Regions from separate parts of the Homo sapiens genome. Here region 1 is linked to region 2. The links are contacts of gene promoters, found by promoter capture Hi-C in blood cells and fetal thymus (Javierre and others, 2016). All regions are on one chromosome and are shown on one strand. Each heading gives the region's core, a stretch centred on a gene start or on the middle of the fragment in contact. The rest is flanking DNA. Distances are from core to core; before and after follow the strand shown.

Evidence for each region. The method cuts DNA at HindIII sites, captures the fragments that hold promoters and counts their contacts. A CHiCAGO score of 5 or more calls a contact.
Region 1: a contact is called between a fragment that was not itself captured here and the fragment with the promoter of MMP15 in region 2, in 1 of 17 cell types (endothelial precursors). The highest score is 5.1, in endothelial precursors.

What each region holds. Positions count from the first base shown.
Region 1 is chr16:58,165,717-58,171,390 of GRCh38, forward strand. It overlaps CSNK2A2 (casein kinase 2 alpha 2), which reads right to left. Exons shown (of 12, transcript NM_001896.4): 6 at 2,894-2,977; 7 at 1,969-2,079; 8 at 1,491-1,592; 9 at 868-968. Among named protein-coding and RNA genes, the nearest start is that of CSNK2A2, 30 kb to the right of the region's middle. The HindIII fragment of the contact is 2,265 bases long and covers 600-2,864 here.
Region 2 is chr16:58,022,337-58,027,702 of GRCh38, forward strand. It overlaps MMP15 (matrix metallopeptidase 15), which reads left to right and starts at 3,418. Exons shown (of 10, transcript NM_002428.4): 1 at 3,418-4,176. The coding sequence starts at 4,015. RefSeq lists enhancers at 2,027-2,614, 2,615-3,200, 3,433-3,982, 4,533-5,082 and a silencer at 3,427-3,566. The HindIII fragment of the contact is 2,704 bases long and covers 2,623-5,326 here.

The sequences.
Region 1 (5,674 bases), core at 482-2,981, 140 kb after region 2:
AAAAATGAAGCATTAGTAACCAGAGACTAAATTCAACAAGAATCCTTATCTACTAGGGCTAAAGCCAACAAAATCTCAGAATAATGTACTGATTACAAGCTTGTTAAATCTCTAACTGGTGCCTGCCCTACGGCCCCATAGTTACAGCATAGCATCCTGAAACACAATGGTGCTCTGTGATTAGAAAAATACAACTAGGTAAAACTTCTATATCTCATTTAGAATATGTGGAACCTTTCTAGATTATTTTTTATGCTGTAGACTTTTAGTCAATTCTGGGTGGCATGCAGAAGAGTGGGCAATTTTTATTGGTCAGCAGATATATTTCCCAGGGCTAGCCTCAGAAACAGGGAGGTTCCATAAAATACTGTTTGAAAACTGTTAACAAAATGTTTACTTCTCAACATTATTGCAATGTACCTGAAAACTCAATGTGCTTTAAAATTTGCTATTGTATAGAAAATCCATTACAGAGAACAAGAAGAAATTGTAAGTCCACCTTGAAGAGATATGAAGTAAATAAAATAAAATATAATAAAAAACAAACTAAGTCTCTTATTCAAAGAATCATTGCTCTCCAAGTTTGGCCATTAAAAATAAGCTTTTGCTGTACCAGAAAACTTTTTTCTATAACATTATGATTTTTGTTTTACCTTTTCTATTAATAGGTTATCTCTCAGAGAAGTAAAATGATTAAAAGACATAAAGTCCAAATATCTCAATAAGTTAAAAGAAAATATGCATAGGAAAAAAGAGGGCTACTTCCATTTTACTATAATCAGAATGGGAAAAGAAAGTGATTTTGGCTAACCTTTCCACTTCTGAAACGGGGTAAGGTAAAGCACTCTCTCTCTCTCTCTTACTTACTGTCCCAGGATATCGTTGAAGTGTGGATCTAGGTCTATGTGATACTTCTTCAGATACCCATACAGTTCTTCTGTACCCAGAACCTTGGCAATGCGAACAAGCTGAAACACAAAACAAACTGACCAAATCACTGAGCACAGAACACACCATGAGCCCGTGAGGACACTGCACCAAGGAATCAGAAGACTTCCACACCACTAAACCTCTAGGAACGAGATACAAACCCAGGTCCAGGGCAGGCAGACAGACCCAAGGACAAGAAGTTCACATGAATGCAAATTTCCAAACGGCCTTTAAAATAATACAACTTACGATAATAATCTTCTAGAGGTGGACCAGTACAGGGCATCACAATCTAATGACTAAAATCTAGTTTTATTAGACAAGGAGGTGCCTGACTTCTTCACAGATTCACTTTGGAAGTTTGGCATAGATGGCATTATCTGCCTCTACTTCTGCGGACCTGGTAAACACAAAATTCTGTGCGATCTTTATCTTGAAGAAAAGCTCATATGCAGACACTGAGTGATACTTAGTGGCTCAAGGATAGTATTCTTATCTAAGGATGCTATTTTTTTGGCATTCACCCCCAAATAAATAAGAACCAGAAAGCATTTGCTCACCTGGTCATAGTTGTCCTGTCCATGGAAGAATGGTTCCCTTCGAAAGATCATGCTTGCTAACATACAGCCCAAACTCCACATGTCCAAGCTATAATCATACATCTGAGGCAATAAGGACAACGCATTAGCCAAGGGTATTAGAAATCCATTTTTCTGATATAAATTTCTTTTTTAGACGAGATTGGGCGTGTTCAGGGTGGTATGGCCATAGATAATTTATTTAAAAAAAATTTTTTTTAACTTCCTGGCTCCTAGAAATGATCTGAATTTCTAGTCTTCATTTAACCTTTGCAGATATTTTAGATTTAAAAACTTCTCTGTCCCCCCAAAAAACTAGCTGAGAAAAAACTAAAATCAGCATTTTAGGGTGAAATAATGGCTGGGTTTTGAGTGTATTCAAACTGACTAGATCAACAGCAAACCAGAAAAGCCCTAAGCAAGTATAAATAACCCAGAATAGCTCTGCTAACAAGTTTACCTGATAGTCCACGAGGAGCTCTGGTCCCTTGAAGTACCTTGAGGCTACACGAACATTGTACTCCTGAGCAGGATGATAGAATTCTGCCAGACCCCAATCTATCAGTCGCAGCTACAAATAGGACAGAAAAAAACATGTGAAAGGAGTGTTTCTAGACGCCTATGCCTTAGAACAAGGCCACATCACATTAGGTAACAATCATTTGGCCACACAAAAAATGTGAGCAGGTGCACTGGCTTAAAAATTACATTTTCAGCAATCGTGCAAGAGGTCATTTTTAGAGCAGAACACTTGAAATGCTTTTTGAAAAAATTTTAAATTATCCTGGTTCATCCCTCTCTCTAGATCAACAGAGCTCAACCTTTTTTTCTGCCCACATTCAGAAACTGTAGGCAGTTACACTTGGTAACACATTCTCCCATCATTCATAGCTTTTCGTTATAAGCTCCAGGCGTCAGTGAAAGGGCTGGGGACACACATCCCACTCCAGGACTGAAGCATTGCTCTAATGATTTATTCGTCTAATACTAGATGATCCATTTACTCACTGATTAGGGCCAACAGAGTTGGATATCAAAAATAGGAGGGACCCAAGTGTTCTTTTAAGGCCAGGCAGATTGGTCTGCGGGTCATCAAGAAATGAAGCAGAAACCACCAGCTGTAATTTCTTTCTGAGGCCCTCCAGAAAACTATGACCAAAATAAACAAGTGACTATAGTTAGTTACTATAGTTAAACCGTCTACTTTCCTTGTGTACTACACTATACAAAGTAGAAATCAACAATGGAGATGGGAGAAATCACAGTAACGAAAGTTTGCCAAAAAACCCACCACGGGTCTACAGAAACCATCATGGCACTGGACAGCTTTTTGGTCTGCTCTAAGCCTTTTAATCAAGCTTGTTGCTGCCTGGCTGTAATGGTACCTTTTTCTGTTGGTGATCTATCATGACATTGTGAGGTTTCACATCCCTGTGCATGATTCCCTTGCTGTGGCAGTAATCCAGAGCCTATTAGGTAAGAAAGCACAGATAATAGTAAGCAACCCCTCTACCATCCCCCAACGCAAGCATAGTCTTATTGTTTGTGACACCTTGACTTGAATACAGTCCCCCAACGGGCAGCTTGCTGCCTGTAATGAAAGAGAAAAAAAGCGTGCTTCAGAAGGCACCCCTTGCTCTCTCTGCACACTACAGCTGGTAGAAAGGGGGTATGAAGGGAATGGCAAGGGCTATGAGGAAGATTTCTTTTTTTTTTTTTTGAGATGGAGTCTTGCTCTGTCGCCCAGGCTGGAGTGCAGTGGTGCAATCTCGGCTCACTGCAAGCTCTGCCTCCCGGGTTCACGCCCTTCTCCTGCCTCAGCCTCCCGAGTAGCTAGGACTACAAGTGCCTGCCACTACGCCCAGCTAATTTTCTGTATTTTTAGTAGAGACAGGGTTTCACCGTGTTAGCCAGGATGGTTTCAATCTCCTGACCTCGTGATCCGCCAGCCTCGGCCTCCCAAGGTACTGGGATTACAGGTGTGAGCCACTGTGCCCAGCCGAGGAAGATTTCTTTAAAAGAGGGGGTGATGAGGCCAGGCACAGTGACTCATGCCTGTAATCCTAGCACTTTGGGAGGCCGAGGCAGGTGGATCACTTGAGGTCAGGAGTTCGAGACTAGCCTGGGCAACACGGCTATACTAAAAATACAAAAGTTAGCTGGGCGTGGTGGTGCGTGCCTGTAATCCCAGCCACTCGACTGGGCTGAGGCTGGAGAACTGCTTGAACCTGGGAGGTGGAGGCTGCAGTGAGCTGAGATGGTGCCACTGCACTCCAGCCTGGGCAAGAAAGGCGGGCAGTGGGGAGGGGGGTGTGTGTGTGGGATGATAAACCAGACTTTGGAACCTCACTGGAGTCACCTCTCATAATGGTTCAAAGGACAGACCAGCATCTATGTGGACATGAAGAATGACATTCAAATACATCTTTCAGTATGGCTTATTTTGTACATAAGGGTCCCACGTGGGTTTTCTAGATGACCAAGTATTAGTATTTTCCTTAATATAATCCCTGAGCCAGCTAGCCTTTAAGACTTATCATTATAAGGCCAGGCATGGTGCTCATGCCTGTAATCCCAGAACTTTCGGAGGCAGGCAGATCACTTCAGGTCAGGAGTTCAAGACCAGCCTGGCCAACATGGCGAAACTCCACCTCTACTAAAAATACAAAAAATTAGCCAGGCAAGGTGGTGGGCACCTCTAGTCCCAGCTACTTGTGGGGCTAAGGCACGAGAATTGCCTGAACCTGAGAGGCGGAGGTTGCAGTGAGCCGAGATGGCACCATTGCACTTCAGCCTGGGCAACAAAGCGGGTCTCAAAAAAAAAACAATTATCATTACATATTATTCCAAGGGAGAAAATTGCTTTGTTTAAGATGATTGATATGCAGATAAGATTTTATGTATATAATGGTTTTTCACAAATTTAAAAAGCTGTGCAACCATTACCACAATCCAGTTTTAGAACATCTCCATCACTCCTAAAATTTTTCTTGAGCTTGTCTGTAGTCAATCCCCTTTCCTAACTTCTCCCAACCCCTCCGTGCCCTGCCCACAACCACTGACCTGCTATTTGCTGGTATAGATTTGCCTTTTCTGTACATTCATAATATGAAATCATACATGTATAGTGCTTTGTCTACCTTCTTTCCTTCAGTATACTGTTTCTGAGATTCATCCAAGTTGTTTTTCCTTGCTGAGTAGTATTCCACTACTAGCTGATGGACATTTGGGTTGTTTCCACTCATGCTTTCATTTCCCTTGGGTAGATTCCTAGGGGTGGAAGTGCTGGGTTGTATGCTAAATTTGTGTTTAAACTTTTAAGAAACTGCCTAATTATCTTCCAAAGTGGCTGCGTCACTTTTACTCCCACCAGCAACCTGAGGGTTCAAGTTTCTCCACATTCTCATCAACACCTGTCATTGTTCAACTTTTTGATTATAGCTTTGCTGGTGGGTGTAAAGTGGTATCTCCATGTGGTTTTGATTTTTATTTCCATAATGAGTGATGAAGTGGAACTTCTTTTTATGTGTCTACCGGCCATTCTAAATCTTCTTTGGAGAAATGCTGATTCAAATCTTTCAATCATTTATTAGATTGTTAAGCTCCATTTTTTTAATGTAAAAATTTGCTTCTAAATCTCCCTTGCCTAACATAATAACTATCTTCATAAACTTCAAATTCAGGACCTTTGGCTAATCTTAACAAGCACCTGAATCCTACACAAGGTCAATGAAATACTCTTCAAGTAGAATCCCTGTCCTCTACCTACCACTAGAGCCCCCCTCCAGTTTTAACAACCAAAAATGGTTCCAGATTTTGCCCAATGTCCCCTGGGGGACAAGCTTGACCTGGATAAGAAGCAATAAACTAGACTCTTGAGGACACTTGAATGGACTTCTTCATGCTGGAGGAGTACACAAGGCAGAGAATGAGCCCTAGGATTAGCATTCCAGGAATAAGCTCCCTCGATCTGTGCTTTTCCCTGAACCAAGAGTATACAATATAGAATGCTTGTTATGGCCAGGCGTGGTGGCTCACGCCTGTAATCCCAGCAGTTTGGGGGCCAAGGCGGGCAGATCACGAGGTCAGGAGTTTTGAGACCAGCCTGACCAACAGGGTGAAACCCCGTTTCTACTAAAAATACAAAAATTAGCCAGGTGTGGTGG
Region 2 (5,366 bases), core at 2,168-4,667:
GGAGAGGAGGAGGATGCCGGGCATACTTTCTGGCTTGCAAGCAACATGGCAACTCCGGCTGTGCAGCCTGCACTTAACTGACACCTGCCCTGTGCCAGGCCCTGAACTGGGCACTTGGTGAACCAGACTAGGTCTACCCTCTGGGTGCTCACAGCAGGGCTGAGCAGGCAGGGAGCACAGAGAAGAATCCCCATCCTCAACATGGTACTTCCCCAGACTTGGGTACTGGCTCCTATTGGGAGGGGGGCAGGTGTGAGGTAGGGCCTCCATCAACAAGCCCAGGAAGAGGGACTGGGCCATTCCCCTGGGGGAGGATGTGGCTGGGGAGTCTGTCTGTGCTGAGGATGGAATTTGAGTGCAGCAACTTTGAGAAATGGGCCAAGATCAATAACTGGCTCCTCAATGGAGAATGGAAGGTGGCAATGGAGGAAGGAAGCAGGAGTCTCGCTGAGGGGGAGGGGTGGGCAGGCTGGGCCTGAGGAGGAGGCTGGCGGCAGGAGCTTGGCGGGCACCCAGACACTGAGTGTGCCTCTGGAGCAGAGTAAGCCCGTTGAGCGAGCGCTCCCGCTGACAGTGCAGAAGCAGCCGGGGCTCTTCCATAACAGGAGATTCTCCATAAGAGGAGAAACATGGGAGACAATTCTGGAGACAGAGGGAAGACCAGAGAAGGCTGCGGTCCCCCCCAGGGAGGCTGGCCCAAAGAAATGCTCTTGATGAGGATTTTATCGCACCAGGGAGAGTACAAAATCAACACATCTGGCCTCGGTGTCCTCAGATGTTCCCCGCAGGGCAGGGAAATCATCTCACGCCTGTTTGGCTGATTTCCACCTGGCACTCTCCAGCGCCTCTCCAGACCACCCCAGCTTTGTTTCCAAGGGAGAGGGAAATTACCTTGGCTTGTTTGTTTATTCCTTGTCTTGGCACGAAGAGTCCCAAGGCCTGCTTCACCTTTGATGGTGGGTCGGGTGGGTGCATCGCCCGAGGGGCCCCTGGAGGGGAGAGCTGGGGGAGGGGGTGTCCTGGGCCTAGTTCCATCCCACAGCTACTTTCCTTCACTGAACAGGAGACCTCCCCTACGACCTCAGAACTCTCCTTTTGCAAATGAGGAAACAAACCCAAAGAGGGGAATAACTTGCTCGGATTGCCCAGTAAATTACAGCTGAGGCAAAAACCCAGGGACCTGGCTTCTGATCCAGAGCTTTTTACAATCCCTCACACCACATCGGGACCTCTAAATGAAACTGCTCTGAAACACCATGTCTGGGCTTTCATTCAAAAGACCAAGAAAAAAAAGGTGTGTGGTGGTGGGCGGGGGTGTCAGGGCATAGATGAAACGGTATTGGCAAAATATGGATAAGGTTTAAAGCTACTTGATGGAAGGGCTGCAGTTCACACATCTCAGTCCCACTGACTAGTCCTTTCGGGCTTTGGGTGCTGTCCAGACCCAGTAGAAACCCAGCTATCTTGGGTTGGATGTAGATGCAAATCCACCTTGGACTCCCAAAGTACCTATAGGAGCCAGAACCAATAATTGGGAGCTTCAAGATCTGGTCACAGGGGATGTCATTTCCTTAAGGCAGGATTGGACCCCAAGAGAGGAACCTCCAACAGAGAGAAAATCACCAGACTTGACCGACCCAGGCCTCAAAGAACGTTGCTCCACTCATTCCTGGGCTCCTCTCACTAACAGCTAGCCCCTTAAACCCCAACTTTTTTTTTCTTTTTTTCTGAGACAGTGTCTCGCTCTGACAGCCGGGTTGAAGGGCAGCGGCATGATCATAGCTCACTGCATCCTCAACCTCCTGGGTTCAAGTGATCCTCCCAACTCAGCCTCCCAAGTAGCTGGGCCTACAGACGTACACCACCACACCTGGCTAATTTTTGTATTCTTTGTACAGATGGGGTCTTGTCATGTTGCCCAGGCTGGTCTTGAACTCCTGGGCTAAAGCAATCCTCCCACTTCGGTCTCCCAAAGTGCTGGGATTACAGGCTTGAGCCACTTTACCTAGCCCCAAACTTTTTAAAATTGGCTAATCGGGACTAAATATCATGAAAGAGTGCGACGTGGTCGGTTAAACAAGGACAACCCCGTTGTCCGTGTCTGAAGACCACTGCACATTTCCCAAAAGCAAATTTCGAAGTGGAGAATTTAGAAACCAACTTCCCAGATGAAGGATCCCACAGAGAAGTGAGTCCGTGGAAATGATAGAATCGCCCGGTTCCTTTCTCTAAACTCCGACTTCCTTTCCCCAAGGACATCCCAGGAGGGTTCAAACGCGCCCTCTCTAAGGCACTCTGCCAGGTCTCCTGATTTCCAGTTTCCGGGAGGTGAGGCCGGCTAGGGTGCCCCGAGGGCCTGCTCTAGAGAAAACCGCCCTCAGGTGAGGACGGCTTCCATTTCCGGGTCTGAAGATAAGGAACAGCTTATCTTCGGTCTCCGCCCTCCTGCCTGCAACCCTCACCCACTGACCACGCCGGCCAGTCCGCCGCGCCAGGGCTGCCCTTGGCCTGGTCCCCGGGTCTCGGTGGACCTTCGACCCGGGCCTCCCAGCTCTGGCCTCCTGCATCCACCCCGCCCCGACCTCAAGCTGCTTCCGGAATAGAATGAAATCCAGCTCGTTAAGCTTCGCGGGGAGGTGTGTCCACCCGCCCCGCGCCGACTCCGGCCGCACTGTCGCACTTCACTCGCACCAGCCAGTGGCCAAAGTGCTTGGGCACCTATTGCGCCAGGCCAGGAGCCGGAAGTCTTACCTCGCCCTCACCCCAACTCTTTGCCCCACGTTCCCGATAAGAACATGGAGGCTCGGAGAGATTAATTTGCCCACGTGCAAGCGGCAGCTAAGGGGCGGACGCGGAACTTGAACCGTGTCCCTCCTAAACCTGCCCCTTGTCCGCCGCAACGCGCCCTCGACGCGCACAAAACCCTCACTTTGCTACTGAGGAAAGTTATTCAATGGCCAGAGACACCCTGCGGCTTTTGAAAAGAGGTTTCAGGCTGACAAATATCCATATATACATATATATTTATATTTAAGCCTAAAACGACTCTTTGATCCCTCCCCTAAGACCTCCTTCCCGTCCGCCTAGGCCTCGGTATCCCCCACCAGGTATGAGAAGGAGGAGTCTTCATTCTTCCCAGGCGGGGAGACCACGCCTTCCCTGCCTCCTCCCTCCGCGGGGGGTCGCGTTGGAGGTCACCCCCGCCCCCTAGGCGCTGGGTTGGGAGTGACGCGGGGTGGGCTGGAGAGGTTTCCTGCCGTCTGGGAAGCGTAAACGGACCGCCCACCTGTCGGGCCTCGGCCGCCCGCACCTGCTTGTGAGAAGCCTGCGGCTGGGGCACCGCCCCCGGTCCCCGCCCGGGTCCGCGCATTGGGAGCACACTGGCCCTTTAAGAGCGCGGCGGCCGCGGCGCGCGGGGAGGAGGGCTGGGAGCGCCCGGAGCCGCGCTGAACTCGCCGGGGACGTCGGGCGCCCGCTCCTTGGCTGGCTCGCTTGCTCTCTCGCTCGCTCTCTCGGGTCGGCTCCCTGCGCCTCCTCCCGGGACTGCTTGGGGACCCGGGCCCGGTCGGGCGCGGCGGCGAGCAGAATCCCCGTGCAGGAGGCGCGCGCTCCGGGCAGCGCCCGGCCCCGGGCATGGACAGAGGGAGCTGGGCGCGCAGGGAGCGCCGCGGGACCGGGCGGCCGGAGCGCTGAGCCAGACAAAGGCTCCGGAGTTGCGCTTGCTCTCGGGAGCCGGGCCCCAGGCGCTGGGCGCCGAGGCTGCGGAACCTCGCCGGGGGCAGCTCCGGTCGGCCCCCTTTCCCGCCGGCTGGTTCCGAGCTCCCGGACCTGCCCTGCCCGCTTCTCCTCGGGCTTGGGAATTTGCCGAGGCGACCTAGGCGGCTCCGGCGGGGACCGGGAGCCCGAGGTCCGCGGCGCGCCTGCCGGGCCAGGAGCCAGGGAGCGTCGCAAGTTTCCAAGGCGCGTGCGAGGATCCGGCGTGCAGTGTTCCGAGCTGGGCTGGGCGCCGAGAGCATGGGCAGCGACCCGAGCGCGCCCGGACGGCCGGGCTGGACGGGCAGCCTCCTCGGCGACCGGGAGGAGGCGGCGCGGCCGCGACTGCTGCCGCTGCTCCTGGTGCTTCTGGGCTGCCTGGGCCTTGGCGTAGCGGCCGAAGACGCGGAGGTCCATGCCGAGGTAAGACCCCCGCCCTGCCCTTTGGCTGCGGGCTGGGGGCTTGGAGGGAGAGGCGCCACGTCCGCAGGCTGGGACTTGGAGGTGGAGGGAGCGGAGACGCGCCCCCTGTTCTGGGCCGTGGCGGGGAAGCAAGCGGACTTGGCAGTCTGCCCCTCCCCAGCTCGCCCTCTGCAGCGCACCTCTTCGCAAACCCTTGAGGGCGCAGGGCCTCGCTCTCCTCCCCGCTACTCCTACAGCCCTGTTCTGGGCACTGAGCCCCCACCCCGACCCCCTTACATTCAGCCTGTGTCCCGGGAGCCGCTTCCGCCGCCCCCAGCCCTTGCCTCCCCTCCTTCCTTCCCTCCAGGGCAGCCGATTCCTCGAGAGCCCGGCTGGCGCGCAGTGGCGCTCTTTGCGAGTGGGGAGGGGGCTGCTCTCGGGGACAGCCACAGGCGGAGCAAGAGCTGGGCGGCTGGGCAACTGCGCTCCTGCCCAGGTGGCCTCCCGTCTGGGTGATACCGAGCCGCGCACGGCGGGCCAGGATGGAGGCGGGGGGATGGGTGCAAACGGCTGAGGCAGCGGACTCGGGTTGCGGGGGCGCTTTGGCGACTTTCTGCGCTTTTGCGAGGAAGCCTAGGCACGCCCGGGCGGGGTCCTAAGGACGGACCCTGCCTCCCACAGCGCTTCCTCCCAACAGCGCCCCTACGTCGAAGCCCTGGATTCGAGAGGGTGGACCCCGCGCCTCTCTTCGCTAGGAGCCCGCTTGGCGTCCCTCCCGGGGCCCCGCTCTGGATGGGTCCCGCGGGTGACCAGGCGCGACATCCCGGCGTAGAGCCGAGTCCAGCCAGCGCCCCAGCTCCATGGTGTCTCCCGAGCGAGGACACCGAAGGCGCCAGCTTTCTTGCCCCAGAGCAAGAGCAGGGTCCACTCTTCCCCGACTTCTAAGACCTGCGCCCTGCCCCAGATAGGCGGGGAGAGGACTTGGGCGGGGAGTAGGGAGAAAGAACCACCCCGGAGCCGCTTCTGAACGGTGCTCAGGCCTTGGTGCCCTTGGGCTGCCCGGGCTGCGGGCCTGAGCGCCGTTTCTATTTGCAGCTCAGCTGGTGCTCCCTCCCTGGCCCACGGCGGCTTTCCCACCTCTCCGGGCTGCCTGGGAGATTTTTCCGATGGAAGCTTGCCCTTCCCCGCCCTACTTTAATAAAAGCATAGAG